Linked DNA regions of Homo sapiens: all the other regions are linked to region 1. The links are contacts of gene promoters, found by promoter capture Hi-C in blood cells and fetal thymus (Javierre and others, 2016). All regions are on one chromosome and are shown on one strand. The core of a region is centred on a gene start or on the middle of the fragment in contact, and the rest is flanking DNA. Distances in the headings are between cores, read along the strand shown. Region 1 holds the start of GABPA (GA binding protein transcription factor subunit alpha). Region 2 has its middle 11 kb from the start of CCT8. Region 3 overlaps USP16 (ubiquitin specific peptidase 16). Region 4 overlaps CCT8 (chaperonin containing TCP1 subunit 8). Region 5 overlaps BACH1 (BTB domain and CNC homolog 1). Region 6 holds the start of LOC124905007 (a long non-coding RNA gene). Region 7 holds the start of LOC124905005 (a long non-coding RNA gene).

What was found. Contacts are between HindIII fragments. The CHiCAGO score rates a contact against its expected background, and 5 or more counts as called.
Region 2: a fragment that was not itself captured here is called in contact with the fragment with the promoter of GABPA in region 1 in 5 of 17 cell types (total CD4 T cells, naive CD8 T cells, non-activated CD4 T cells and 2 more); the score reaches 12.4 in total CD4 T cells.
Region 3: a fragment that was not itself captured here is called in contact with the fragment with the promoter of GABPA in region 1 in 11 of 17 cell types (total CD8 T cells, non-activated CD4 T cells, M2 macrophages and 8 more); the score reaches 15.5 in total CD8 T cells.
Region 4: a fragment that was not itself captured here is called in contact with the fragment with the promoter of GABPA in region 1 in 7 of 17 cell types (total CD4 T cells, non-activated CD4 T cells, naive CD8 T cells and 4 more); the score reaches 18.9 in total CD4 T cells.
Region 5: a contact is called between a fragment that was not itself captured here and the fragment with the promoter of GABPA in region 1, in 3 of 17 cell types (non-activated CD4 T cells, naive CD8 T cells and total CD4 T cells). The highest score is 6.1, in non-activated CD4 T cells.
Region 6: a contact is called between a fragment that was not itself captured here and the fragment with the promoter of GABPA in region 1, in 2 of 17 cell types (non-activated CD4 T cells and naive CD8 T cells). The highest score is 9.4, in non-activated CD4 T cells.
Region 7: a fragment that was not itself captured here is called in contact with the fragment with the promoter of GABPA in region 1 in 8 of 17 cell types (naive CD8 T cells, fetal thymus, non-activated CD4 T cells and 5 more); the score reaches 15.1 in naive CD8 T cells.

The regions. Positions count from the first base shown.
Region 1 is chr21:25,733,562-25,737,441 of GRCh38, reverse strand. GABPA (GA binding protein transcription factor subunit alpha) reads right to left here and starts at 2,470. Exons shown (of 10, transcript NM_002040.4): 1 at 1,864-2,470. ATP5PF (ATP synthase peripheral stalk subunit F6) reads left to right here and starts at 2,538. Exons shown (of 4, transcript NM_001003703.2): 1 at 2,538-2,589. RefSeq lists silencers at 1,477-1,686, 1,747-1,886, 2,827-2,926 and enhancers at 2,387-2,506, 2,527-2,636, 2,063-2,718, 3,037-3,116. The HindIII fragment of the contact is 6,464 bases long and covers 952-3,880 here.
Region 2 is chr21:29,082,782-29,086,776 of GRCh38, reverse strand. It overlaps a transcript of MAP3K7CL not described here. Among named protein-coding and RNA genes, the nearest start is that of CCT8, 11 kb to the right of the region's middle. The HindIII fragment of the contact is 5,814 bases long and covers 1-3,995 here.
Region 3 is chr21:29,035,237-29,039,239 of GRCh38, reverse strand. USP16 (ubiquitin specific peptidase 16) reads right to left here. Exons shown (of 18, transcript NM_006447.3): 5 at 2,866-2,969; 6 at 1,777-1,964; 7 at 810-905; 8 at 84-214. Among named protein-coding and RNA genes, the nearest start is that of USP16, 13 kb to the right of the region's middle. The HindIII fragment of the contact is 3,546 bases long and covers 596-4,003 here.
Region 4 is chr21:29,065,005-29,069,204 of GRCh38, reverse strand. It overlaps CCT8 (chaperonin containing TCP1 subunit 8), which reads left to right. Exons shown (of 15, transcript NM_006585.4): 4 at 1,500-1,649; 5 at 2,134-2,314; 6 at 2,428-2,489; 7 at 4,100-4,200. Among named protein-coding and RNA genes, the nearest start is that of CCT8, 6.5 kb to the left of the region's middle. RefSeq lists enhancers at 3,913-4,022, 4,043-4,200. The HindIII fragment of the contact is 1,949 bases long and covers 349-2,297 here.
Region 5 is chr21:29,308,444-29,312,765 of GRCh38, reverse strand. The region is part of intron 1 of BACH1 (BTB domain and CNC homolog 1); the gene reads right to left. Among named protein-coding and RNA genes, the nearest start is that of BACH1, 12 kb to the right of the region's middle. The HindIII fragment of the contact is 3,024 bases long and covers 57-3,080 here.
Region 6 is chr21:29,284,857-29,288,932 of GRCh38, reverse strand. LINC00189 (long intergenic non-protein coding RNA 189) reads right to left here. Exons shown (of 2, transcript NR_027072.2): 2 at 728-949. It overlaps LOC124905007 (a long non-coding RNA gene), which reads left to right and starts at 853. Exons shown (of 2, transcript XR_007067841.1): 1 at 853-965. The HindIII fragment of the contact is 3,354 bases long and covers 1,036-4,076 here.
Region 7 is chr21:29,014,263-29,018,619 of GRCh38, reverse strand. The region is part of intron 1 of RWDD2B (RWD domain containing 2B); the gene reads left to right. LOC124905005 (a long non-coding RNA gene) reads right to left here and starts at 1,034. Exons shown (of 2, transcript XR_007067836.1): 1 at 373-1,034. The HindIII fragment of the contact is 3,849 bases long and covers 317-4,165 here.

The DNA of each region.
Region 1 (3,880 bases), core at 1,221-3,720:
AAATATTACTCAGTCTCTTAAATCTTTCTTTCTCTCCTGGTTCTCTATGCTTAGTCCAGAGAAGCAAAACAGAGATTTGAGAAATAGTCCAAATCTTTCATATCAGTTTTTGAGTGAGTCTTATCTCTTTTTCTGAAACCAATTCCTCAGGCTTCTATGTCAATACTTAGGAAAACTGAGAGAAAATTACTTGCAGTTTCTCCGTCTAAGGGCTGCCCCCGCCAGAACTGCACAGAACAATTTCATATACTTTGACACTCTGGTTCTGCTGGATTAAATCCAACCTGGGGTTCGGAATGTTTCACAAGATGGGATACAAACTAAACTTGAATTTAACGAAAAATTCTGGGAACGGCTAGTGTCTTTTAAAATACAGATAGGTGTAACATTCCCTTTTGAAACTACAGATAAATTTGAGAATTGTCCTTCATTGGAGAGCATTATTACAGAGCTTAGAACATTTTGTTCCCAATATATTATAAGTGGAGTGTGGGGGTACCTGCGAGATTAACTGCACATTTTCCTAAGTTATCAAATGCTTTTCTGTGTCTGAGGAAATTAAAAGACATTTTTATTTTCAAAAATAAAGGTAGCAGTTAAGAAAAAGCAAAGCATACATATCTATGTAATATAAAAAGAGAAAGCACATACAGTGAAAGATTAACAGTTGGGACCCTCAGGTGAAGGGTATCTGCGTGTTCACTGCATGATTTTTTCCCCAATTCTTCTGTAGGTTTGGAGTTTTATATATAAAGAGTTGAGGGAAGGCTAAAGTCAACAGTTTTAATTTAGTACTCGGTCTGATGATTTGCTTCAACCTAACATCTAGCTCATGATTTAATTACTTCATTACTATACATGCCTCATGACAGATGCTCTTGTATACACAATTCAGGTAAAATTGACTTGAAGTCCACTCAGCGTCACTGTATGTCTAAAAATAAAGAAGCTTGGAAAGCCTGGATGGAACCCTGAGAGACAGGCTAGTCCCTCAAGCAGTTGCTAAAGAGTTGAGCGGTTTCTTCTGAAGTTCAAGATAACACTACCGAAGAATGTTATCACCGCCTCGTTCTACAATTCGCTCAAGTGAATCCTGCTAAATCTTTGCTCTTCTCACGAGTCAGACCTACTGCTATTAGTGGAAACTACTTATGAAATGAATTTTATTTCTAAATTTCTAATCATCTTGCAATGCAATATTAGGCATTGTCCTCTCGGTCCGCTAACCTGATCAAACTGGGGTCCCTAAATCCAAACACGCACATACAGCGTGTCTTCTAGTACACAAAAAAATTTCCAAGTAGACAACCCATTGTTATCTCCTTGGTTTACTTCCTTGCTTAAAAACAAAAAAACAAACCCAGATGGCTACCATATACGCTGATAAATGATTCTGGTGTGTGTTGTTCTATAAAGAGAGCGGATTTGAAATGAGTGAATCGCTGAGTCCCGCGATGAGACAGGGTCTGCATTTTGCTCTTAAAATCTCGGGGGCGTCAGGACCACATCCCAGCTGAGCAGGCTGAGACTGCTGAGGAGTGCGGACGGGCGAGGAGGGGACGCGGAAAGGAGGGAGCGGCGACAGGCGACCCGTCCGGCACGGGTCCCGGCGGTGCCCGGTCCCCCCGGGCTCCAGGCCGCTCGCCCCCCGCCCCTCCCCTTCGCTCCCCGCACAGCTCTCCCGCCCCTCCCCACCCGGCTCCCTCAAGTCTCCACGAACGGAAATGGGAGTCACAGCGCCGGGGACCAGCGGAAACAAAACACAGAGGCGGCCGCGGGGGGGCCCTTGTGGGGGAAAAGGCCCCGGAACGAGGCCGGCCCGCGAGGGCCCGCGCTCCCCTCCTCCCCGGCGGCCGCACTCACCCACTCCGGAATCGGCCCTGTCGCCCCCGCCCGCACTCCAGAGCCGGCTGAGAACGGCAGCGGCGAGGGCTCCACGTGCAGCGTCTCTCCGGGTAAGACCTGCAGCTCCCGCGACTAGAAGTGTGAGGTCCCAGGGCCCTTCCCGCGGAATCGGCGCTGAGAAGCCCCAACCCCCCTCCCGCCTCCCAGGCACCTTCGGGTCCAGGACTACAACTCCCGGCAGGGTGCGCAAAACGACCGCCCAAGGCAACGGAGGCTCACGAGGTACAAGGAAGCACAACGCCCCAATCCGCTTTGTTTTACACAGTCTCACTTTCCCTGCACCTTTATACACTTCGATAACCCTAACGAACAGGACGCTGACTCGGAGGGGAGCTTGAACTAGGGGAAAGGCCACTCAAAGAGCGCATGCGTACAGAGCAAGGTTTCAAGGAGGGGAAAAAGAACGGGTCAAATTAGGCGAAGAAAAGATGGCGGAGGCTGTGCCAGGGGACCCGGAAGCACTTACCCTCCACTTCCTCCTCCTGTTTGGCTTCTGTCTCACCTAGACCCGTCCGGTCGCAGACTGTCTCCGAGACGCTTCCTGTCCGGTGAGCGTCGACCGACTGAAACGGCGGCCCATAATGCATTGCGATGGCGGGTAGGCGTGTGGGGGCGGAGCCAGGGCCGGAAGTAGAGCGGAGGTGGTGGCGGCGGAGGCTTTGGCAGCTCGGGACTGAGTGCAAGGTGACTGGGAGGGTAGCTAGATCAGCGTGGCCTTTTGGGACTCCAGTTCTGGGTTTTTTCACGAGGCCTGGGCTGCCTCTCACCTTTACTAGGAGGAGAGAGCAGCTCTGTGTCCTGGGGACCTTCACGGCCTGGCCCGGGGTCACAGCTGACCTCTACGTTTGTAGACCTTGGAGTTTGCCGTAGACCCAGAAATAAGATCGATACCCTCTCTGAGGGCAAATCGGGGCGGCGCGGGGGGCAGGGAGGCCCGGGGGTCTCGGGCCCGCAGCCTGGCTGGGGCAACCCAAGGTCAGGCGCGCGGGAGAGATTTTCGGCCAGGCCTACCCGCCCCGGGCGCACGGGAGCGTCTAGGCTACTTAGGCAGAACGTGTACCATTAAGAGGGAAAAAATTAGTCATAATATTGAAAGTTTGCATCCCACCTAAAAACGATGGTGCTAACACTTCATTAGGCGACTTTATGGATTGTTCATAGGAATATGCACTGAAGAGGCAGCGAACCTACTAACCTTTGGCCGGTCAGTCATCACTATAAATAGAACCATGCTCCCACCCAGAACAAGGCCTCTGCTCAGACTAGTGTTTTCTTACTGTTGCCTTCCCCAGTCTTTCTGATCATGTCAGACGCTATCATATGCTCTCGTGGCACCCGATGGTACTGGAATAGAGAATTTATGTCAGGTGGTATTTCACAGCTATTTGTGTAATGACTATCTTCTGCGTTTTAGTGGACAATATGCATTCACTAATCAGTGAAAAAAAATGAAAGGGATTAAAGGAGAAGGAACAAGTTTTGATATGGGATTATGTGTTCGTTTTTTGGATGAGTTCGTAGGACTTATAAGGGAGATGAGAACTGTTGAATGCTGTGGATAGATTTGGGGCTCAGGATGAATACTAAAATTAGAAATGCGATTGGGGAATCATAGGCACTTACATGGTGGATAATTGAAACAATGAAAGTGGATTTTACCCGTGTTGCAGAAGGAGTAACATCTATGCAGTCAGACTTAGAGCAAATTAACTGTGAGAATACGTGCAGCTTAATCTTTCTTAGATACAGTTTTATCATCTGTAAAGCAGGGATAAGAACACTTTAACTCTTTGAGAGTATTGCTGTAAGGGTACAAGGAAAGGATATATATGGAAGTACTTTGCACAGTATCTAGGGCTAAGCAAATGTCGGGTGAACCTATTGCTGAATGTTAAGCATGTCCTTAGTTTGCCAGAAGGGAAAGTGGCATTGAATTGCACAATTTTTTTTTTTGCATATATGTGTTAAGTTAGAT
Region 2 (3,995 bases), core at 212-2,711, 3.4 Mb before region 1:
ACTCAGGGTCAAGTTATTGCAAGATTAATGAAGAAAGAACAGGGCCTTAGCAGAGGATAGGAGTCTATTGCCAATCACCACCTGGCCAGATTCTCGTTACTGTGGGGCAGGCTTTACTATATTTCTTGCCATCATTATCATTCTCACCATCAGCTTTATTATCAATGAAACTTAAGTAAAATCTTAGGCCAGCACTGCTCATCACGGAAGTGAAATGTTGATCAGCCTAGAGCAAAATGAATCTGAAGGAGCAATACTCAATGCTGTGGTCACTATGAAATGACACCAACATTCCTTAATTTCCCCCAGAGCATCATCAGGTAAGCGGACTTTCTGTTTTCCAAGCTGGGTGGGAATCCTTCCACTCATTTTCCAGAGCTGGTGGGCAGCAAACACTTACGGGGCCATGAACCTCGAGAAGTTCATTTCAAGCTGGAACTCACATAGATGTGCCAATGATTTTTCCTGGCCACATTTTATCATCTGTGCCTGCTCTTTCTCTAAGAACACCATATAAAGCAGTCCTTACTCCACGGATCATTTAGTTTACTAAATCATGGTTTATTTTTTCCGCAGGATATCACATGCTATTTTAGAATCAGTTTTCAAAAGGTCTTAAATGACTTGGCTCAAAATTGGTTTTGTATTAAGGGAAAGAACCGGTGTCCCAGAGTTTCAATCAGCACCTTAACAAATAGTCTGCCGACCTCCCACAGATTGCCAACAGTAATGGTTAGCTGAGACTTCCAAGGTCCATTTCTCTCTGCTTCTTTCCTACATTTTTCCCACCCTGTTTTCACTGAAAACAGGATTATAGTCGACAGTTTTACAGGAAGGGGTTGGGGGAAGGCGGACATACCTTAAGATCTGCTGCCTCGTTCCACATAACTTCTAAAGGTGCAATCAGCTGAACCATCTAGTCGCTTTGCATGACAGTAATTTAACCACTCAAGTTGTCTTTCACCTGGGGGATATAGAGAGTTATGATTCTGCATCAAAGCCATCGCAACATTCCTTCAAACAACATACTAACCATGCCGTTGGCATTCAATTAATGTTAAATACAGTAACATTTCATTCACATACAATATTGGGGAGAACGAGGTTTTCTACATAAATGAATTTTGCAGACAAGCAAAGCTCACCCCAACAAGAACCAAAAGATATTAGTAAACTTTGAATCATTTTTGATAGAATTTAAATGCTTTTTTTTTTTTTTTTTTTTTTTTTTAGACAGAGTCTGGCTCTGTCACCCAGGCTGGAGTGCAGTGGCACGATCTCAGCTCACTGCAAGCTCCGCCTCCCGGGTTCACTCCATTCTCCTGCCTCAGCCTAAATGCACTTTTTATGTCCAATGACCACTTAAATAAGGTGCAGGGATCTTTATTTTGTTTATTCATAGCCAATGATCACTTTAAGCATAATACACGGCTACGTGCAATGCAATGGTTTCACCTAAAAGCCTCAATTATGTTTCTCAAGTTCTGGTGAGCAAGTCTCCTTGAAGCATGTCAAGCCCTTGTTGGTCTAGCTGTCACTTTTGCTACTACTGGCAGGTTTGACTGCTCTTGGCTTGCACATTCCCACCCCATTCTCATTTGCTCTGTGTGAGAAGATTATAAAACTTACGAACCTGAGCAGTATTACTTTACAACAATTCTCAGTCCAGAAGGACCCCGGTAAGGGCTTAAGGGTTATTCCACACCTCAAATGAGAGAAAATATGGGCTTAGAGACAGGCATTTTCCTTGCTGACTTTTTTTTTCCTTTGTGAATTTTTGGCAAAGTCTGAGAATCATCTTGAGATAAGTCACTGTGCATTATTACATTTCCCAAACATATTCTCTTCTACTTCTTGTTTCTCACTTGCATTTCCTAAATAAACTTTCTTACTCATCTCAGAAAGTTAATTTCTAATTGCGTTTAGACTATATTTGCCTAAGTTATCAAAAATCACTGTGTGATGATGTCAGGGAATGAAAAGATCTTTTGGAAGGATTTTTGGTAACCATTACCCTCCTTCTTCATTGAGATTCCTGATGTGATTTAACTTTCACCTCGATGGTGCATTTGGCATAGAGTCAGAGGAGTGAATATCTGGTAAGAAAGAAAATAGTCTAATCAAATAGCAATGAGAAAATGTAATTGCTCTAGCAGACTGCTACATAAATAGACACATAGATCCTCCCTTGATTTTATTCCCCTGAGGCTAATGACTGACCCTAATGAAAATCCCAGAGGAAATCATTGTAATAAAAATAGCCAAAACATTAAGAACAGGGCAAGTGAGAATGATGATGGCTGATAAGCATTTGAACCATCAAGCATCGTTACTAATCCAACTACAAAAATAAGTACTGGCTCATGGGCTAAGTACCTAAAAGAAATCAGGGACCATCTTACATGAATCAATTAGTGTGTAGACCTTAAGAAAAAATATTCTACAATGACCCTCTAGTTCCCATTATTGTTTTTAATAGAATCTATATATAGTAATGTAAGAAGGTCTCAAGATTGCTTTTTATGCTTTAGTGTTGTGCTACTTATGATGTGGTAGTGTTTCCAGTTTAAGCCACAAATTATAAATTCTTCCTTCTAAGTAAAAAACAAAATTATTCTAAAGTGAAATTGCTAATCCCTTTAATCAACCCCAAACCATCTGTGAATTCATAAACTAGCAATTTTGGAAAAAAAAATATATACATATTATACATGTATATATACATATAATATTATATATAATTATATTACATATATGTCATAAAATATATACATATACATGTGTGTATACATATGTTATATACAATTATATATATTATATATTATAATATTAAATGATTATTTCAGAATTAGTAAAACAGAGATATATATATTACATAAACAAGAGAGGTAATATTATATATATTACATACACACACACACACATATATACACACACACACACATCCCAGCTGATTCCATAAAGAACTTTATGTGGCTTACAAAAACAAATAAAATCACTAAGGATTTTTTTAAGTTGAGATAGTCTGAGCAAAAAAGAAAGAACAATCAGGAAAATAGTAAAACCAAATGTTAAGAGTGGTAGACAGAAATGTTGCACCAGAGCCCTGTAGAGTTGGTAGAGATGGGCTACACATTTGGCTCTAAGTTTCCAGCAGTTAAAGAGAGAAACAAAAACATTGGAAGATTCATAGCGGCCATAAAATATAAAAACCATGGTTGAATGCTGAGATAAATTTTTCCCACAGGTCATATAAAAAGGATACCATGCAATGAAATGATTGACATCCATCAAAAACAGGCATCGAGTAGAGATAACAGTCTATGATAGTTGGCCATTCCTTTTAATTTTCCTTATTATAAGACAATGGCATGATACCAAAATGCAATTTATCAAACTCAGTCCTCCAAAGGACTAAAACTTTAATGGTCTGGCTTCATCCGAGGGCAAAATTAATTATCTAAATGGGAATGTGCTGCACGGCATTGAGGGAATTTTGCTCAAACATAAATTTTTGCAATTAGGCATTTGATAAGGATTGGATAAGGAATGGTTAGAAATTATCTTCTCAAATTGGAGTCCAGGGGGCAGATTTCTGTGTAATAGAGTAAGGCCAAGAAAATTGAGGAATTGCCCAAGGCAAAACACCCAAGTACCTTTAGAAAGGACCAATATCATGCCCTCCAAATATTTCTGAATTCATTTCAAAATATAATTAAATGGGAAAGTAAGACACCAATGCTCTGTGACACGAAGAATGATGACACTAATGTTTAGCTAGAGTTTTTTCAATACAGATATTAATAGTCACCTGCTGTGGTGGCTCAAGAAAAAAAAAAAGCTCAGTGAAACATCAAAATGACACCTTAATTTAAGTAATATTGCTTTCTAGTGAATCCTGCAAGGTAAATTGATCCCAGTATTTTCTTAAGAAACTTGTTGAATGAAGTTGTTGAACACCAAGTAAATGAATGGTGGAAAACTCTTGCCAAAAG
Region 3 (4,003 bases), core at 1,119-3,618, 3.3 Mb before region 1:
TTTTATATTTTACTATTTAATATTAATATTATTTCTCAGCATCTCACTGAGGCACTGAAAGCACAATCGAAGTGGATACTCACTTTTTACAGACCTGAGAAAAGAGTTCTTTCGGTGTCACAACCCCCTTTTTGGTCTCTTGCATCTCATTAAGAAACTGGCTCATGGCTAAAGTAAGAGGGCCTGGAGGCTCAAGGTTTATTTCTAATGGTTCCTGAATATGGGAAAAGAAATTACTTTCTTCAGTCAAATTCTGGAATCACTGACTTTACTAAAATCTAATTAGTTAACATATACTACCAATGTTCCTGACAGAACTGCCCCATTTAAAAGTTTAAAATGTACATCAAAAGAGATAGAAACTGTTTGGTCACAGACTGTCTTATGCAGAATTCAGCTCTACTATTTTAGTTTTAGATTATCTGGAACACTTACTACCTAAGAATTGAAAGAGCCAAAGCAAAATGTAAATAATAAAAATGGATAAGGTAATATTTATTTGGTTACACAGCTCTTAAGTCACCTTAAAGATGTTAAAAATAATAATGTAAGCCTAAGGCTTCTCAAACATATACACATTCCCAAGAAGGAAGCTTAACACTCGAGCATAGAAAAACAGAGCACACACACAGCAAACAGATGTAATGCCTCCTTATAACTTCTATTAGCCTGAAACTGTTTAAGTTAGTAGCCTAAAGTAAAACAAAACAAACAAAAACAGTGGAAATGAGTGTCAGTTATTTAAAATAATTTAGAAAACACACATTCAGAGAGGAAAGTTACAGACTAGAAAAGTTTAAAGAACATACTGTTAATGCCAAATCAGGTGGTTCAATTTTTACAATTGTTCCAGACATTTTCACTTCTTTTAGTAGTTCTCTAAGCACTGGTGTTTGTGACAAGTTCTAGAATGTAGGGTGAAAAAAAAAGAGAAAAATTATTTAAAGGCAAATCAACTCTGACACTTCTTAAGTGTCTATTCTATCAAAACAGAAAATCATGACCAACACTGAAAACTCTATACTTGGAAAATGAAAAGTTACAGATGCTTCTCTCCCTACTCTATTTGGGTCATAACTACTTCAGTTCTGAGCTTATTCATCACCTCAGTGGGGCATTCTCCCACCACCCAATCAGAAGTAGCTATCCCCAATCCTCCACCATGACTCTCTCACAACCACTTACCACTACCTGTAGGTACGTATTTGCTTCTATATGAGGTTATCCTGTGTTTCCTCCACCCAAGTGCAAGCTCCATGAAAGAAGCAGCAATATTTCTTTCAAACCCACTGCACCCGAGTGCTCACCAAACTCTCTTACTGTCATGCAATAAAACTTTCCTTAAGTTTTCTTTGGCCAGGCATGGTGGCTCACGCCTGTAATCCAAACACTTTGGGTGGCCAAAGGGGGTGGACGGCTTAAGCCCAGGAGTTCAAGACTAGCCTAGGCAACATGGCGAAACCCTGTCTCTACAAAAGATACAAAAACTAGCTGGGAGTGGTGGCGCATGCCTGTAGTCCCAGCTACTCTGGAGGCTAAGGTAGGAGGACTGCTTGAGCCCAAGAGGTAGAGGCTGCAGTGAGCCACGATCGTGCCACTGCACTCCAGCCGAGTGACAGAGTGAGACCCTGTCTCAAAAAAAAAAAAAAAAAAAAAAAAAGTTTTCTTTGGATACATAGAAATAAATTACTCAGGTGGAAAAAACTCAATAATGTAAGTAGCAGATTCTATGAGGAAAAGGACAGCTTTTTTAAAGGGAAAAAAATGACAATGTACCTGCATAACTGCATTGAAGAAACATGTGTTTCCCAAATTACTGAGTCCTTTCACGGTTATTTGGCAAGGAGAATTCATGGGAGGATTCTCTTTAGCCATGTTTTCCTTCTTTTCTCTCTCTTGTTCATTCTTACTCTCTTTTTCTAATTTTTTATTTTCAAGTTCAATATTTCCATTATCTTTCTCTGCTTTAAAAAAAGAAAAGATTTAGCAAAATGTGTAATACAGTCATATCGAATGCAGAAGTATACTTGGGAAACAGTACTAGAGTTTGTGAGTTTACCTGAAGTCATTCTTTCCAACCCACCCACCCATTTGATTTTAAATAGATACAGGTAAATTGCCATCCAGAAAAAAAACACAAAACCCAGTAAACAAAAAATACTCAGACCTAAAGTAAGCATTAGTTTGATAAATGAAACCAAACAGTATGTGCTTTGGTATAAATCTCCCTTTTTTACTGCACGAAAATTCTTTACAAATGAACACATCTTACCTTGTGAAATTAAGAATATAAAACAATCAAGAACATGGACATGAAATAAATTTTTTAATGAATTCTGTGGGTCAAAAATCAATCCTAAAGTAAAAAACAAATAATTCTGGCTCTGACAAAGATACTTGTGACAATAAAAACTTAAAAAACATGCTTAAAGCAAATGCTGTATGTCAGCCAATTAATTTAATTATGCATGGAAAGAACCTAAGAAATATCTGACCATTAGAAGGAATCACAAATGCTTTATGTTATCCCAGCAGACAGACTGAAATCTTGCTATTACAAAATGTACGACAGTAAGAACAGTGTAAGGCAGGTCTATAGTAAGCCTGGCTAGGGTTATGGGAATTACCTTAGTCTTAGCATTAATGGCCATTACCTTAGTCTATGGCCTTCATCACATCTGACTAGATCATTTCTCATATCCCTTCTAATACCTTATAGTTAAACCAAAAATAGTTTCATAGTTTGCAATCAACCATAACTAATGTTACTCAGCTGTATGTAATGCTAGGTAGTATAACAAATCTAAGTATCAGCAGATACACAAATCGACATTTGGTGTATATTAAAGAAACAAATTATTTTACCTGGCTTTGGAGTTGTAATGCTGGCTTGTTTTCTGACATAATCAACCACTTGACCCAACTGGTTTGAACTACAATACTGGACCTCATTATCACATACGTAACACCTGTGACCCAAAAATCAGAGATGAAAAATGACAAAATGACAACTAAAAAGGGGGAGACAAATAATAATTCCTGGAATCAAAGTGTGTAACTGCCAACTTATTCTATTAAAGAAACCGAACGTAAAAATTCTGTTTTCCTGAAGAAGACTATGCATATTAACTCTGGTTTATTATTAATAAAATTAGCCAGAATTATGGCTGCATATAAGTAGTATGATGAAATACTCCAAACGTTTTACTTTACTGGTTATAACATTGAAGTCAAAAGATTGTTTACATATATTTTAAAATACAGAATAACACTAACAAAAATAACAACTTTTTTTTGTTTGTTTTGTTTTTTGGTTTTTTTTGAGACGGAGTCTCGCTCTGTTGCCCAGGCTGCGTGCAGTGGCAGGATCTCGGCTCACTGCAACCTCCAGCTCCCTGGTTCATGCCATTCTCCTACCTCAGCCTCCCGAGTAGCTGGGACTACAGGCACCCACCACCATGCCCAGCTACTTTTTTTTTGTATTTTTAGTAGAGATGGGGTTTCAACGTGTTAGCCAGACAAAAGTAACAACTTTTACAATTGAAAGATGCCATTCAAGCCAGGCACGGTGGCTCATGCCTGTAATCCCAGCACTTTGGGAGGCTGAGGCATGCGGATCACAAGGGGATCACGAGGTCAGGAGTTTGAGACCAGCCTGACCAACATGGTGAAACCCCGTCTCTACTAAAAATACAAAAATTAGCCGGGCGTGGTGGTGCATCCCTGTAATCTCAGCTACTCGGGAGGCTGAGGCAGGAGAATTGCTTGAACCTGGGAGGCGGAGGTTGTGGTGAGCCGAGATCACACCACTGCACTCCAGCCTGGGCGACAGAAAGATTCCGTCTCAAAAAAAAAAAAAAGATGTCATTCAGTGAAGACTACTGTGAAAATGATTTTTAAGACGTAAAAATCTGTTTTAATGATGTTACAATGCAGCATCTATAACATACCAGACTGACATTTATTTTCATGCAAATTCATAGCCAAAATTTTATTACAATTT
Region 4 (4,200 bases), core at 74-2,573, 3.3 Mb before region 1:
GGATTGGTTGTGATACATTGCTAATTACGATATGAAATTGATTACCATTGTCTTCATTCTATAGGGTGACTCTGAAGTGAATTATTCCACAGTGCAAAAACGTATACATATAACAGTGGTTTTTAAAAAGATCCAACCATTTGGTTTTGTGAAAATAAAAACAATCAGTTGATGGCATTTTACTTTGTTCAGCTTTAGTTTTACTATTAGAATCTATAAAATAGATACTGCCTGCCAGCAGGGTTATAAGGAAGGTCTGGCACCTGAACAGGCAGAGAGAGCCATTCCTCATTCCCGCCTTGTAATTAAAGGATAACATATTCAACCTCAGGGAATTTTCCTGAAGCTTAGCCCTTGAAAGCACTAGAACTTAATCTTTTGTTTTAAATGAAACGATAGAAGAATCAACATTTTTCTAACCTCTTAAATAATATATTTTTGGTTGGACGCGGTGGCTCACGCCTGTAATCCCACCACTTTGGGAGGTCAAGGCAGGCGGATCACCTAAGGTCAGGAGTTTGAGACTAGCCTGGCCAACATGGTGAAACCCCATCTCTACTAAAAATACAGAAACAAAATCAGCCGGGCGTGGTGGCACACACCTGTAGTTCCAGCTACTCAGTAGGCTAGGGCAGGAGAATTGCTTGAACCTGGGAGGCGGAGGTTGCAATGAGCCAAGATCGCGCCACTGCACTCCAGCCTGGGCGACAGAGCAAGACTCCATCTCAAAAAAGAAAAAAAAATACATATTATATATATAAATTCTTAAAGAACTTAAGTTAAAAGTTAAATTTTAACTCCACAAAACACTTGTACAAGGGTTTGTCACTGTGAATGTTAATGTTGCACACTGATGATCTCAGGAGTTATTAAAGTACAGTGGTGATACCGTCAAAATAATAAAATCACAGGGCTGACTTTTTATAGTTTTCTTGTTGCTCTCAGTTCTTACTCCTTGGCTTGTTTCTGTAAAGGTATCTAAAATTAAATCCTAAGAATAAAATCCACATAAAATTATGTTATATTTGAAGAAAAGTTTTATACTCCCCCTTTTCTTTAAATCACAAATGATAACCCTTACAACAAGAATATATAGTAAAATAGATATTGAGAGTCATGACCAAGTTAAGTGGTATCTATTTTAGTTCTCCTGAAGGCTTTTAAAAAATATCTAGGTTTGGTGGTTGTAATTACTTTGTTTTTTAATTTAGTGAAATATGATATGGTGAAACATATGTGTGGCACTGTATGTGCAGGCCACCAAAAGAGGATGCACTTTGAAATTCTTATTTATAGTGATACATTTGTGCTGATCGGCATAAAGGGACTTGGATTTTTTCTTGTGACCACACTATAAGTAGCGTATAGCAGTGTAGCAGTGTGATCAGATGGAGTTACCTAATCTACAAGAAAATTGAGTCTATTTAAGAAATGGAAATGAACAATTTTATGTTGCTTTAAGGATCAGATGTTTAACTTGATATTACCTTTTCTACTAGGTACAGCATCCTGCTGCAAAAATGATTGTAATGGCTTCTCATATGCAAGAGCAAGAAGTTGGAGATGGCACAAACTTTGTTCTGGTATTTGCTGGAGCTCTCCTGGAATTAGCTGAAGAACTTCTGAGGATTGGCCTGTCAGTTTCAGAGGCAAGTGTTCATTTATAATTTACTCCTACTAAATTTTTGCTTACATATACACCTGCTTAAAACATAAACTAAAATCATTATTATAGTAGTAGCTAACATGCACTGAGCAGTTTGCTCTGTACCAGCCATTATAGTACATATGCTTCACATGCTGTATCATTTTAGTCTCACAAAAACCCTATTAGTGAGGCCTTATAATCCCATTTTATCTATTTTTTTTCCCACTTTATTTTAGATGAGAAAAGAGACTAAAATTAGAAAAATCTTGCCCAAGATCTCATAGCTAGTGAGTTAGGTAGAGTTAAGATTCAAATTTGGGCTGTCATCTAAGCCTCCATTCATAACTAGTAGAGTCTACTATATGTTTTATTCCGAAGTATATTCTTTGTCATTTTGTATCAAAAATAAACATCCATATGCATTGGGTTACCAAAATAAGCTACTTTAAGTCATGTCAGAATAGGAAATGTTGTTTATGTTTTAGGTCATAGAAGGTTATGAAATAGCCTGCAGAAAAGCTCATGAGATTCTTCCTAATTTGGTATGTTGTTCTGCAAAAAACCTTCGAGATATTGATGAAGTCTCATCTCTACTTCGTACCTCCATAATGAGTAAACAATATGGTAATGAAGTATTTCTGGCCAAGCTTATTGCTCAGGCATGCGGTAAGTAAATATCAGTAAATGAAAAGATCCAAAATAAAAATACCTTTAACATGACTAGATACTTTCTCTGTTGTCCCAAAATAATCTTTTGATATGTCTCATTTTCTTAACAGTATCTATTTTTCCTGATTCCGGCCATTTCAATGTTGATAACATCAGAGTTTGTAAAATTCTGGTAAGTAGAAAATGCATTAATGCTACATATCTAGGTCAGTTTTTTTGTGTGCTTTTTTTGTTTTTTTGTGCAAAAAAAAAAAAATGTGTTCATCTAAACCTAAATGTTACTTCATGATTTGAACACTTAGGACTTTTTTTGAGGCATTATTTTTATTTATGTACTTATTTATTTTTGAGACGGAGTCTCGCTCTTGTTGCCCAGGTTGGAGTGCAATGACATGACCTCGGCTCACCGCAACCTCCGCCTCCCGGTTCAAGTGATTCTCCAGTCCCAGCCTCCCGAGTAGCTGGGATTACAGGCATGCGCCACCACACCCGGCTAATTTTGTATTTTTAGTAGAGATGGGGTTTCTCCGTGTTGGTCAGGCTGGTCTCGAACTCCCGACCTCAGGTGATCCACCTGCCTTGGCCTCCCAAAGTGCTGGGATTAACAGGCGTGAACCACCGTGCCTGGCCTTTGAGGCATTATTTTGTAACATTTTGATGTTGCTAAGTTGTAATAATACTACTACCTATTTAAGTTTAAAAGGATATTGACATATTATCTCCTTATAAAGTCATTTTCTGTGATGTCTTGTGGGTTTAAGAATAATGTATAAACAAAATACTAAATTTTTTTTTTTTTTTTTTTTGAGATGGAGTCTGGCTCTGTTGCCCAGGTTGGAGTGCAGTGCCTCGACCTCGGCTCACTGCAACCTCCACCTCCCAGGTTCAAGTGGTTTTCCTGCCTCAACCTCCCAAGTAGCTGGATTACAGGTGCATGCCACCATGTCCAGCTAATTTTTGTATTTTTTTAGTAGAGGCAGGGTTTCACCATGTTGGCCAGGCTGGTCTCGAACTCCTGACCTCATGATCTGCCCACCTTGGCCTCCCAAAGTGCTGAGATTACAGGTGTGAGCCACCGCGCCCAGCGCAAAATACTAATTTTTTTGTGTTCTTCATAATACTCTGAATTATAATAAGCTTATAAGACAGTTTTGAGTGGGGTGGAAATCGTCCTATTCCTCTTCAATAATAGAATTCACACTTTAATGTTAGTATTGAAATATTAAAGTATATTTTTGATAAAATGTGCTTGATAGAGTAAAACCTATCAGTGGAATGGTTTTGGTTTTGCACATTGGCATTCTGATTGTTAATGTGAATTTAGCATAACATAAGTACATGTGCTTTCCCTGAAGATACTCACGTGTTCTATGTTTGCTGTCTCCCTCCACGTACTGCCAGCTTTTCCCATTAAATGCAACCTTGTGAGAACAGAATCTTTGCTTTGTTCTGTGTTGTATTTGCAGTACTGACAGCTGTGGCTGGTATATTGGCACCAAGTACTAGGTAACTGAATGGCTAAGACCAGTTCTCTGCCTTTGGTTCTTCCCAGTACATGGAAGGACCTCCCCTCCCTAAAAGTAGCTCATTCCCTCAGTGATTTCTGCCTCGAGCAGAAGGGTGTGCTGTATGTCCACCACTCCACCCCTTATCCCAGGAGTCACTGCCTTGGTTTATGACTTTATTTTAGAAAGGGATATTTTTGGTATATGGAGAATCAACAGTTTGACCGTAATGTTATTTTCAGGAGATTGCTGATGAGTTTGGTATTCAATTCCTTAGGGCTCTGGTATCAGTTCCTCTTCAGTATTGCATGGCATGGTTTTTAAGAAGGAAACCGAAGGTGATGTAACATCTGTCAAAGATGCAAAAATAGCAGTGTA
Region 5 (4,322 bases), core at 319-2,818, 3.6 Mb before region 1:
AGGCATTCTTTATCTCAGCATTATTATGATCTTTTTAGTAGAGGGCTTGTGAAGCTTTTGCTATATTCCTCAGCATTTAATGTTTATAGTTACTGCATACAGAGTTGGTTTTTTTAAACTTCATTTTCTCTTTTGTTTTGTTTTGTTGCTATTGTGTAAAAACAAAATTATCGTTTTAAATATCAACCGTGAATTCTGCAACCTTAATTTGCTTACTAGTTCGGATAGCTGTTTGTGGATTCCATAGGATTTTCTATGCACACAATCATGTCATCTGCAAACAGAGACCATTTTACTTCTTTCCCGTCTTTATGCTTATTTCTTTTTCTTCCCTTATTGCAATGACCGAATAGTGAGAGTGGTGACAGTGGGTATCCTCATCTCATTCCCATATAAGGAAAGTGTTAAGTATTTCGCCACTAAATATGTTAACTGTAGATTTTCTAAGATGAGCAACTAATGGGCAGAGAGGCGGGTGCAATTGTTACTATCCCAGTTAAGGCTCCCACAAGAAAGAGGGGAGGGGAAAAAAGCAAAGAATGAAAATTCCCCCAACACGTAAAATTTCCCAACTCAGCCTCTTCCACGGTTTGTCTACACCACTTTCTAAATGCTTACATCTCAGATACCCCTAAAATCCCACAATCAGGGGCTGAAGATGAGGACAGAGTTGTTATCAGGGAGCACAAGTAAGGACATAAAGACTTCTCCAGAAACTGCCAAACAGCAGCTAGCGCTGCTCTAGGGATACCTATGGGTGGACAGCACAAAAGATTAATAGCACTTTATAACTTGAGGACTCCACTGTCAGTTAAGCATGTCACTTTACATCTCTGTGACTTTTTTCAACTTTTAGAATAGACAAATAATGAGAGACTTAATTATAACTATAGCATAGAATGTAAATATTATTAACCTTGACAAAATAAAGCAGGCTGGGAGACAGAATCAGGAAGAATGGGAATGGTATTTCCATACAACTTACAATGTGCAGAGTCAAAAGGCACTGCCTCAGATTAATGAGACAAGAAAAAGAAATAGAAAAAAAGTGTTTAGAGCTGGAGTTGCAGAGGTGATCAACAGTAGAAGTGGAATAATAAGATTACAAATACATGTGGGGGGATAGTAGAGTAAACGAAATCATCACCCACAGTAATACCAAGTCAACAGATAATATCTTAGGTTGATAAATAAACTGAGGTGTAAACATTTTAGACAGAGGTATCCACCAAAAAAATTAAATAGCAGAAACCAGTAAACATTGCACATAACTCTGAAGCAGAATTAGGGGGTGAGGTGCAGCAGATAAGGTTGTTCTCTGTACTTAAAAAAACAAACAAACAAAAACCAACAAGTATTACTTTGACTAAAAACACAAACTTAAAATGTTTAAATAGATAGTAAACAAAAGTAGCAAAATTTAGTTAAATGTAAATGGTTGATCACTTGGTTGCAAGTATTAATATAACTTTTTAGGAGAGTCTTCAAATAGAAAAGGCATTTGATAGAGAATATTCTGAACTAAAAAGATTTTAACAAAACTAAGAGAAGGAAAGAAAAAAATACAGAAAGACATCTTGTTTGGGTACGATGTTACACATACTATTTAATACTGGTGAATATTAATTTAAATCAGTTAAAATTTTAAGGGTATCCTCCAGAAAAATGAGCTGTTGAACTGCCAAATCACTAGAGCACTGGTTCTCTGCCTTACAGAATCTGATGAAATCTATTGAACTTCCACCAGAAAACCACGCACATAATAAAATTTTGCATTTGCCTTTAATGGAACTGATGAATAATGGATCCTCTCTTAAAATTTATTGACCCTCCTTATACCCCTCGATCTATAATTCTTTGCTCTCCTGTACTGAATTTCCAAAAGGAACCATTTATACTCACACTGTCTCTTCCCTCTCTTCCCAATTTCATTTGAGGCCACTCAAACAAGCCTTTTCCCCTCCACTCCGTGGAAACCATTTAGTGAAGCTCAACAGCTTCCACATCACCAAATGGCAAATGTTCAGTCTTCTTACACAGCATCTCAGCAATAGTTAACAAGTTGATCATTCCTTTCCTGAAACCTTGTCTTCACTTGGCTTCCAGGATACCACAATCCTCTGGTTTCTTCTTTGCACACACTCCCTAGGTGAACACATCTGGACCCACAATGGAGACACGATCACTTCACTGACTTGCTGAACACTCTCATATTCGTATTTGGTCCAATCTTGACTTCTCTCTTGAATTTCATACTCATATAGCCAACTGCATACTCAAATTACTACCTGTATGTCTAATAGGCATCACCAATTCAGTATGTCCAGAAATCTTGGTTGCCACCCTCATCACCATCACCATGCCTTGTTAGGATATATAATTAAAATATTAGCATGGTAAGATCTAGGTAATTTTTGTTTCTGCATTCAAATTCTTAACCATAAATACATACTACTTTATAATCAGAAAAATGTTGGAATAAATAACTATAAACAAACAAAAAATGTGCCTTGGTTAAAAAGATAGTTCACAATTATTTTGATTGTCGTGAAATCTCCCAAAGATTGCCAATTACATTTTCCCCCTTTAGAGTAGATATTTCCTACAGTCATCAGCAGATAATTGGTTTGTCACTACATGATAAGTTGATGGGCTCTAAAACTTAGCAGATTCTTCACAATAAATTACTAAAGAATAAATTAAATTTTATAGAAATCTAAAATAAAAAGAAGACTTGGTGTTTAAAAAAAATGAGAGAACCCTGCTATAGGAAAATGAGGAGGAAAGACCCATCAAGTCAAGTCTAGCCATGTGAACAAGGGCAAATGTGCATGTGTGAAACTGAATAGATAGCCTAAGTAGGTAGCTCCCACCCTATCTGTCTCACGAAGCCCTCTGAAAAATATGAAGTGTTAAACACACAGAATTATTAGGGACAACAGGAAATCAAGTTTTAGGTTATTTTAAGGCTACCAGCAGCTGTGGATAATCAGATTAACGCTCTACTGATATCATCAACCATGTGATCTTCTGTAAATTACCTGGCTTAACACTTCCTATAATAAAAATTCAGTTAAGCTTAATAAGGATCTCAAGATAAAATGAAAATATTAAAATTGCACAAGTCTGCCCAAAATAATGGCTAATTTCACAGACCTAAAGAATTTCCAATTAAAAAAGCACATTCATCCAGGATGACCCGCTTCTGTTACAGATAAGGAAACTAAAGGCTTGAGAAGGGCAATAATTTAAAGACTGAAAAAGTCTCTGCTCCCAGGTCCAAATATTACATTTCAATTCATGTTACATGACTCAAGTGGTATGTGGGGGAAGAATAGGTAAAACTGAGGAGGGATGGAAGAACAAGGAGTTCAAGAAATACCCCAAGTATCCTGTGTGTGATGAGAAGGAACACTATTACACAAACAGATTAAATGGGCATTTGTGGAACAACAAATTTCCCCTTATTAATCAATATTTGGTGAATCTTTCTTTTTTTTTTTTTTTTGAGACAGAGTCTCACTCTGTCACCCAGGCTGGAGTGCAGTGGCACAATCTTGGCTCACTGTAACACCTGTCCCCCAGGTTCAAGCAATTCTCATGCCTCAGCCTCCCAAGTAGCTGGGATTGCAGGCGAGCATCACCACGCCCAGATAATTTTCATATTTTTAGTAGAGACAGGGTTTCACCATGTTGGCCAGGCTGGTCTCGAACTCCTGACCTCAGGTGATCTGCCTGCCTCGCCCTCCCATAGTGCTGGGATTACAGGCATGAGCCACCACACCCGGGTCTGGTGAATTAATTTCTAAATAACACTCACTAGATCATATAACCAATCTCATGCATCACTGAAAGGAACCTGACACTAAACTGTGCTCAACTTAAATCATCAAGGTCTATAGTTATACATACTACATATGGACAACTAGAAGAAGAGAACACTAGGAAGTATTTCACTACAAGTTACTTTCAATACAGAGGATTAAGCATCCATGTTCTATTTTCATAATGAAATAAAGATTCTTCATATGCCATCTTGTTTTTTAAACTGTAAAAATTACAACCATAATTCATATTCTTTAGGAGGCGAAAGCCCTAAAACTAGTTGATGGCCAAAATGACCCCCTGCAGGTTTAAGAGTTGACACACATAGTATGCATAGTAACCGAAAAGATAAAATAAACAAAAAAAGTGCTCTTCAAATTCCTAACTATACACCAACTCACAATAAAATTTGAGTCAAAAAGGGGGGTGAGGGTGGAGGGAGGTGCTTAAGAGTATAAAAAAGAATGTTAACAATTTTAATTAAATAAAACAGAAGT
Region 6 (4,076 bases), core at 1,463-3,962, 3.6 Mb before region 1:
CCCCTTGGGTTTCCAAAAACAAGCTCTAATATAATTTGATTCTTTATCCTTAGCAATGGGAAGTCAAGCATAAAACCATGTGCAAGCACCGCATGATGTGGCATAGGAAAGAAAACATTAATCATAGACATTTCTATCACTTTTTAATAGACAAAAATCCGTGTTTCTATTAGCAGATACAAACAGATCAGTCTGTGCCCTTATTACTTTTCTAGTTGGCGCCCGAAATCCCTTAAAGATTGATTATTTGGGGTGAAGGTTTTGCGTATTCAGAAGTTCTCTGTTAAAATTCAAATTCTTTCAGAGGGCAAACATTAAGCCACATTTAAGGACAGTCGTAATCACTCTAGTGAGAAGCAGCTCATAAAAATACTCATGGCGAATGGGATTTAAATGCATTTTGACAGGAAAGTGGAAGAAAGCATCGAGAGCAGAATCCATGCCACTGTTGGGGCCTGAGAGAATTTTGGTGGAGTCGGGGAGGGCAGTAGAGGGCACTGAATGCTAAGTAGCAGAGGGATGACAGAGACGAATTCTGAATCATTGACAGGTGAGCATAGTTTTTGGAAACAAGTGTTACCTATTCAGTAAGACTTTTATTAAAAATCCAGTTAAGATATTGAAAATAAGGCCCTGAGATACTGTAGATTCATCATTATTAGTAGAAAAATAAAGAATGATATATATTATGAAAGTGCAAAAAATAGGAAAGATTTAAATACATCTATCCACGTTCAATATTCAAAATGTATTTTTGTGAATCTGATATTTCATAGATTTTGTTTCAGTTGATACACCAGGAATATCTCAAATGAAAGTATATAAAACAGGAATTATCTCAAATGAAGAAGTTGAGTTTTCAGGCCAAAAGCTGGCAAAGGTTGCCATGCAGTCTTCAGGCTCATTGACCAAGAGCCCCTTCCTCCACCTGAAACATTCCCTGAAGATCCTGTAAATAAATACAGGTAAATAAATTTGACTGTATGGACTTCATAAGTGCCTTCTTATATCAATTTATGTGCATGTTTTAAAGCTTTATATCATACAGTGTGCAGTTATATCCTTTTTAAGTATGATTTGTAATCATTTAATAAAAGGTCTATTAATTCCCTATTATGTCATATGATTTGTAGGAGGTATTTTGATCAGTTTTATTTATAATAGTCAAAAGTGTCAAAATCCTGGCCTCTGTGGAGTCCTGCTGGGAGAGAATATGAAGCAAGCCACAGATGGCCTAGAATAGAAACTGGAAGGAAGCTACATTGGGCTTCCTGCTATCTGAATCACCAAGTTCAGGAACTAAGTATTTACTAGTCTTGAGTACTTATTAGTTCAATTCAGGCTAACAGGAAGTCATTGATGAGAAAGTAGATGGAACAGAAATCAATGTAGGCTGCTTTTGGAGGGACTTTCATCCCTCGTGGAGAGGCATTTCAGCATAATGATTACAAACATGGACTTTAGTTAGAGCCAGAGTGTTTGAAACCCACTTCTACTACTTACCCATTTGTGCCTGTTTCTTCACCCATAAACAGGGATTATGCTGGTACTTATTACAACAGAGTTGTTGCAAATATTAAATGAGTTAACATACAAAGAGCATTTAGACCAGCACATAGGCATAATTGTATAAGTATTAGCTTCATTATTATAGAAGCCAAGAATATTTTAGATAAAAGCAAGGGTGAAGCAGAGATCAGGTCCTGCCCAAGCCTAATTTGCTGATTCTGAGAAGGGACTAGATAGCATCAAGAAATATGAAAATGGTGGCACTGAGGATTTTTTAGCTTTGAAGTTATGCAAGAGGAATACTAATCATTCCTTAATGTGAAACTATCCAAGAGATATTACCCTAATTTAAATTTCAGTTATAAACCGGTTTGATGATGGCCTTTGGAATAGAGGGGTGTGTGTGTGTGTGTGTGAGTGTGTGTGTGTGTATTTAAAAATCCAGTCAATGGAAAAAGGTTGAAGATGCAGCTGCGTGCACGCTCTTTGAAATAAGCATCTTCTAAGTGAAAACAAAACTGTGAAAACAGCCTCCCAGGGAGCAGGCTGGAGTTGAAGTACACAGTGTTGGTGATCCACCGAGACCCTTCAGACCCCTTTTACCATTTTTGTGCACCTCTCTGCTCTTGCTCCCGATGGCCAGCCCTTCTTTAGAAGACTTCCCTCAGTCAGTGAAGCTGCTTCCCACCCCCATCCCCTGCACATGTTGATTCAGAAATGCCTGCAACTTTACCTCTCTCTGGATGGTGCTTAGCTGCTGGGCAGAGGAGTATGAAAGCCAAGCTCCTCTGCCTCACGTTATTCTCTAAGTTCCCCTATGGGATCAGGCCACACCTATCTTCCGCAGGACTTTTGTCCAATATTGCACCTTGTTTGGCTTCCTCTCCTTCCCTATTCTTCCTTCATTTCCTTACTGATTTCCCTTGGGAGGAAAATAATAAATAACAAATCACTTGCACATGAATCCTTGTCTCAGGGTCTGCTTCTGGGGAACCCACCTGCTATGATCTGAATGTTTGTGTTCCCTCAAGATCCATATGTGAAAATCCTAACCCCAAGGTGATGGTTTTAGAAAATGGCACTTTTAGGAAGTGATTAATGCACTTAGTATACTTATAAAAGAGACCCCAGAGAGCTGACTAGCTTCTTCTACTATGTGAGAACACGGCAAGAAGGCACCATCCATGAACCAGGAAGTGGGTCCTCTCTAGACACAGAATCTGCCCGTTTCTGGATCTCAGACTTCCCAGCCTCCAGAACTGTGAAAAATAAAATTCTGTTTTGTAAGCCTCCCAGTTTATAGTATTTTGTTATAGCAGCCCAAACAGACTAACACACTGACAAGATAGAAGTGAAGTACTTTTTGTCTTCTTTTATAATAAATGATTAGTAATTAAGGCACACTCTGGGATCAGGAAATCTGAATTCAAATCTTGCCCTTAGCTGTGCTAACTTCTATGAGCCTGCTTTCTATCTTTGAATGTTTTCAGTTTAAGCAGTATTTTATTTCTTCTTAATACAACCAAGAACTGTCTTAGATTTTGAGTTACCTAGGTAGGAGAATGAACTAACTTTTGCCAAACATTGGGCACAGAGCTAGGTTCCATTGATGTGTGTTCATTTAATCTTCACAACAACCAGAAGGGGCATGTATGCTCATCCCTGTTTCACAGCGAGGAGTTTGAGAATCAGAGAAGTAATTTGTCCAATACTAAACTGAATGAGTATTTAAATGCAGGGTTATGTAGAACATAGAGTTATAAGAAAGAATCACAAAAACGGTAAAAATTCCATTATATGTAACTTAATTATATAAAGAAAATCTCTATGCAAATTTGCAAAGTTGACTGCAATTAAAAGTTGAGGAAGTGCAAAGATATATGAAGGATATAGGATGTCTCACTAAACATCCTACAATTCAAAGTTGCAAGGAAGAGAGAGAAAAAAAGGAGCAGATGAAGAATGAATTACTAAATATAGGTGGCTGGAAGGAAAATCAAAGAAGGGTGATGGGAGGTGACTCTCACTGTTAAAATATGGTGGGAAATCAAATGAATGAGGTCAAGGAACCATTGGAGGAATGAAGAGAGACTTCTAAGGAAAATAGTGGTGAACATCATTTTCCTGAGATAGGGGCCAGGAAAAACCCTTTGCAAGTTCCAATCAGCATGATTGCCAGGGTACACTGAACAAGAACGCAAGTGTGTTAGTTCAGATCCTCTAACAAGCCAACACCTGGAACAGGATTAAACATGCAAGGAATTGATTAGAAGGAATGCCTGTGTGAAAGGAAACAGCAGGTAGAGCAATAAGACTCCATTGCAAGCCTAATCTCAAGCAAAGAAGAGAGGAGAGAAGATTGCATGGAAGCATCGTAGAAATACAGTGCAGTCTAACGAAGGTTCAACAAAGTTAGCAGAAAGTCCTTGAGCCTAAGTGGACACTGGTAGGAGTCCCATGGCTCTATGAATGAGTCTGCCTTTGTATCCCCACTACACTGCATCACTGGCAAGGAGCAGCCCATGGGAAGTATAGCCTCAAGCCTCAAGCAAAGGTACCCATGCATT
Region 7 (4,357 bases), core at 992-3,491, 3.3 Mb before region 1:
AAATAATTTGGCAGATAAATGACCTGTGACATCACTCCCGTAGTTGTCCGTTCAAGAGTCCCTCCGTCCCGTTCTTCTTTGCTAATCCCATTTCATCTTCGATACCTCCAATTCAATAGCACCCTCTCCCAACTTTACTCACTCCCTGGGAGACTTTAAACAAATATATAGTTCCAAATAAGTGTTGACTCCCAAGATTATATATCTAGCTGAGTCTCTCGTAGACTTCAAAACTATACATCTAACTGCCTGCTAGACCTCTCTATTTAACAGGTGTCTTAGTAGGCACTTCATTACTTGTGTCTAAAACCAAGCTTCAGCTCCCCATGACCATCAACGTCTAAATAAATGGCAGATCCATACTTTCAGTACCTTAAAGCCCCGGAGTCATTCTTCCGTGTCTCATGTAATTCATCTGTAAATCCTGTTGCCTCTGTTCTCTGCATGTATCCAGAACCTGAAGCTCACCAACTTGACCACTATAATCCTATCAAAGCCACCATCATCTCTCCCTAGTTATTGCGGTGTCTATATCTGGTCACCCCACTTTTCCTTTCACTTTTCTCCATAGCAGCAAGTGTGGGGATCTTCATAAGTCAAACCTCTCTTGTAGCTCTTACATGTCAGTCGGGATAAAATTCAAAATTCTGGCCATGCTTTACTAGTCCCAACATAAACTGCCCCACATTTCCTTACTAAACTCTTCTATTCCCCGTGTCCTCAGCTCACTGTGCTCTGGCCAGCTGTTCTAGCACCCTCCTTCCTCAAGGCCTTTGAATATGCTGTTCGCTTTCCCTTGAACACTCTTGGCCAAGAAAAACACATGGCCTCCTTTTTCAGTTCCTTAAAGTCTCTTCCCTACAGTCACCTTAGGAGAAAGGCCTTTCCTGACAATGCTGTGTGCAGTCTCACCCCTGCTGCCTCATTGTTTCCCTTATCCTTGTTTTCTTTTTCAGGTTTCTTCATAGCAGTTATTCACTGGGTACAAAAATTCTTTTTTGTTTTTTTTTGAGACAGTCTTGCTCTGTTGCTCTGGCTGGAGTGCAGAGGTATGATCTTAGCTCACTGCAACCTCCGCCTCCCCAGTTCAAGCGATTCTCCTGCCTCAGCCTCCCTAGTAGCTGGGACTACAGGCGTGGGCGACCACACCTGGCTAATTTTTGTATTTTTAGTAGAGATGGGGTTTCATCATGTTGGCCAGGCTGGTCTCAAACTCCTGACCTTAGGTGATCCGCCCACCTCATCCTCCCAAAGTGCTGGGATTACAGGCGTGAGCCACCACCGCACCTGGGCTGGGCGTATAAATTTGTTTTTGATGTCATGGTATCCTCCCACCAGTAGAGTTGTTTTATTACTTTCATTCATTGTTATCTTAGTGCCAGTGCTTGAACGTAAGTGCTTGAGAAACATTTGTTGAAATGATGACCAATAATAATAATAGTAATAAGCAGCCGGACACGGTGGCTCATGCCTGTAATCCCAGCACTTTGGGAGCCCAGGGCGGGTGGATCATGACGGCAGGAGTTCGAGACCAGCCTGGCCAACGTGGTGAAACCCCGTCTCTACTAAAAAACCCAGAAAGCAGAGGTTGTAGTGAGCCGACTCTGCACTCTGGCCTGGGTGACAGAGCTAGACCCTGTCTCAAAAAAAAAGGTTTTTTTAATTAATAATAATAGTAGCAAGCACGCATATAAAATTTACTGTTGCCAGGCACTTTCCACAAATTCTCATCTAATCATCACAGCAACCCTCTCATCCCAGTTATGGAGTTGGGGAGACTAAAGCACAGATAAATTAAGCCACTTGCCTAAGGTCCTGCAGTTGGTAAGTGGCAGAGCCAGGAGTCGCACCTTGGCAATCTGGTAATAGAATCCAAAAACACTGGTAACAGAGCCACGCCAACAAAAAAACAAAGTAAACCATTTCCTCTAATAACCACCCAAGTAGTTGTTTTTTATGTTTCTCAACTCCAAAACAGACCAGCAAATATGTATATGGAATTCCAATAAGTCCAGGGATTTTAAGTATGTATGAGGATTTTGTTTAAAAAAAAAAAGGCCGGGAGCAGTGGCTCATGCCTGTAATCCCAGCACTCTGGGAGGCCAAGGCGGGTGAATCACCTGAGGTCGGGAGTTTGAGACTAGCCCAACTGACATGGTGTAACTCCATCTCTACTAAATACAAAAAATTAGCTGGGTGTGGTGGCGCATGCCTGTAATCCTAGCTACTTGGGAGGCTGAGGCAGGAGAATCGCTTGAACCTGGGAGGTGGAGATTGCAGTGAGCCGAGATTGCACCATTTCACTCCAGCCTGGGCAACAAGAGCGAAACTCCGTCTCAAAAAAATAAATAAATAAAAAATCGGAAAAAAAACAAAAGAAAACATTGCGATTAAAGGAGGGAGGAATATTTGCAGTTCCAACAGTTATTAGAAGAGGAAAACTTCAAATTAAACATGAATAGACATATTAATAAATATATGTTAATATATGTATAAATATTATCAAGGCTACCCACCATCTTTTATGATACTTTAAATGCTTATATTTAAACTACTTAAATTCAGGTAACTACATGGCAAAATAAGGAATCCTGCTCTGTTCTGTGGAGAGGAGGGCTAATGTCATTTGGCCTGGAAAAACATGTTCTGGAGTCAGACAGAATACTGAACACCCCTCTTGGAAATTCACAGTTTAAGACTCTGAGAAGTCACAAATAAGAATTGTGCCCATATAGTCTCTCGCCTAATTAGGATTGCTTTTGTCTAGGATAAATACCTAAACCATATGGGGCTGGGCATGGTGGCTCACGCCTGTAATCCCAGCACTTTGGAAGGCCAGGGTAGGTAGATCACCTGAGGTCAGGAGTTTGAGACCAGCCTGGCCAACATGATAAAACCCTTTCTCTACTAAAAATACAAAAAATTAGCTGGGCGTGGTGGCGAACACCTGTAATCCCAGCTATTCGGGAGGCTGAGGCAAGAGAATCACTTGAACCCAGGAGGCGGAGGTTGTGGTGAGCCAAGATTGTGCCATTGCACTCCAGCCTGGGCAACAAGAGCAAAACTCCATCTCAAAAAAAAAAAAAAAAAAGACTAGGTGTGGCGGCTCACACCTGTAATCACAGCACTTTGGGAGGCCAACGCGGGTGGATCACAAGGTCAGGATTTCGAGACCAGCCTGCCCAACATGGTGAAACCCCATCTCTACTAAAAATACAAAAATTAGCTGGGCGTAGTGGTGTGCGCCTGTAATCCCAGCTACGCAGGAGGCTGAGGCAGGAGAATTGCTTGAACCTGGGAGGTGGAGGTTGCAATAAGCCAAGATTGCACCATTGTACTCCAGCCTGGGTGACAAAGTGAGACTCCCATCTCAAAAAAAAAAAAAAAAAAAAAAACGCATCATAATCAAACTTCTGAAAACCAAAGACAATGAAAAATTCTTAAAATTAGTGACAAAAATGAACCTTATCTGTAAAGGAAAACAATTCAAATGAGAGTGATTTCTCATCAGTCACCAGAGAGGCTAGGTGAAGAGGCACAGCATTTTTCAATTGTTGAAAGTAAAAACCTGTTAAGCCAGAATACTGCATCCAGTGAAAATATTCTGCAGAAATGAAGGGGAAATCAAGACATTCTAAGATGAAGGAAATCTAGGAGATTTGTCACCAGCAGACCTATCCTAAAAGAATGGTTAAAATAGGTTCTCTAAACAGAAAAGAAATAATAAAAGAATTATTATTAAAGAAATATAATTTAGACCTATTTTATTTTACTTTATTTATTTTTATTTTTTTATTTTTAGAAGGAGTCTCGCTCTGCCGCCCAGGCTGGAGTGCAGTGGCTGTATCTCGGCTCACTGAAAGCTCTGCCTCCTGGGTTCACGCCATTCTCCTGCCTCAGCCTCCTGAGTAGCTGGGACTACAGGTGCCCGCCACCACGCCCGGCTAATTTTTTGTATTTTTAGTAGAGATGGGGTTTCACCATGTTAGCCAGGATGGTCTTGATCTCCTGACCTCATGATCTGCCTGCCTTGGCCTCCCAAAGTGCTGGGATTACAGGCGTGAGCCACTGCGCCAGGCCATTTAGACCTATTTTAGGACTGTTAAGACTGAGATGGTCTCTGCTGTGGTTTAATGTGTGCCCCAAAGTTCATGTGTTAGAAGCTTTATCCCAAAGCAATAGAGTTGAGTGGTGGGACCTTTCAGAGGTGATTAAGTGATATGCAGGGATATAACAAAAAATGTAACATTCCTGTCATCAGCATTTCAGAAGAAGAGAAAGAAGGCAGGGTTGAAAAAGTTCCCAAAGAACAGGGCCCTCACAAATGGATTAATGGTGTTACTGCAGGAGTGGGTTA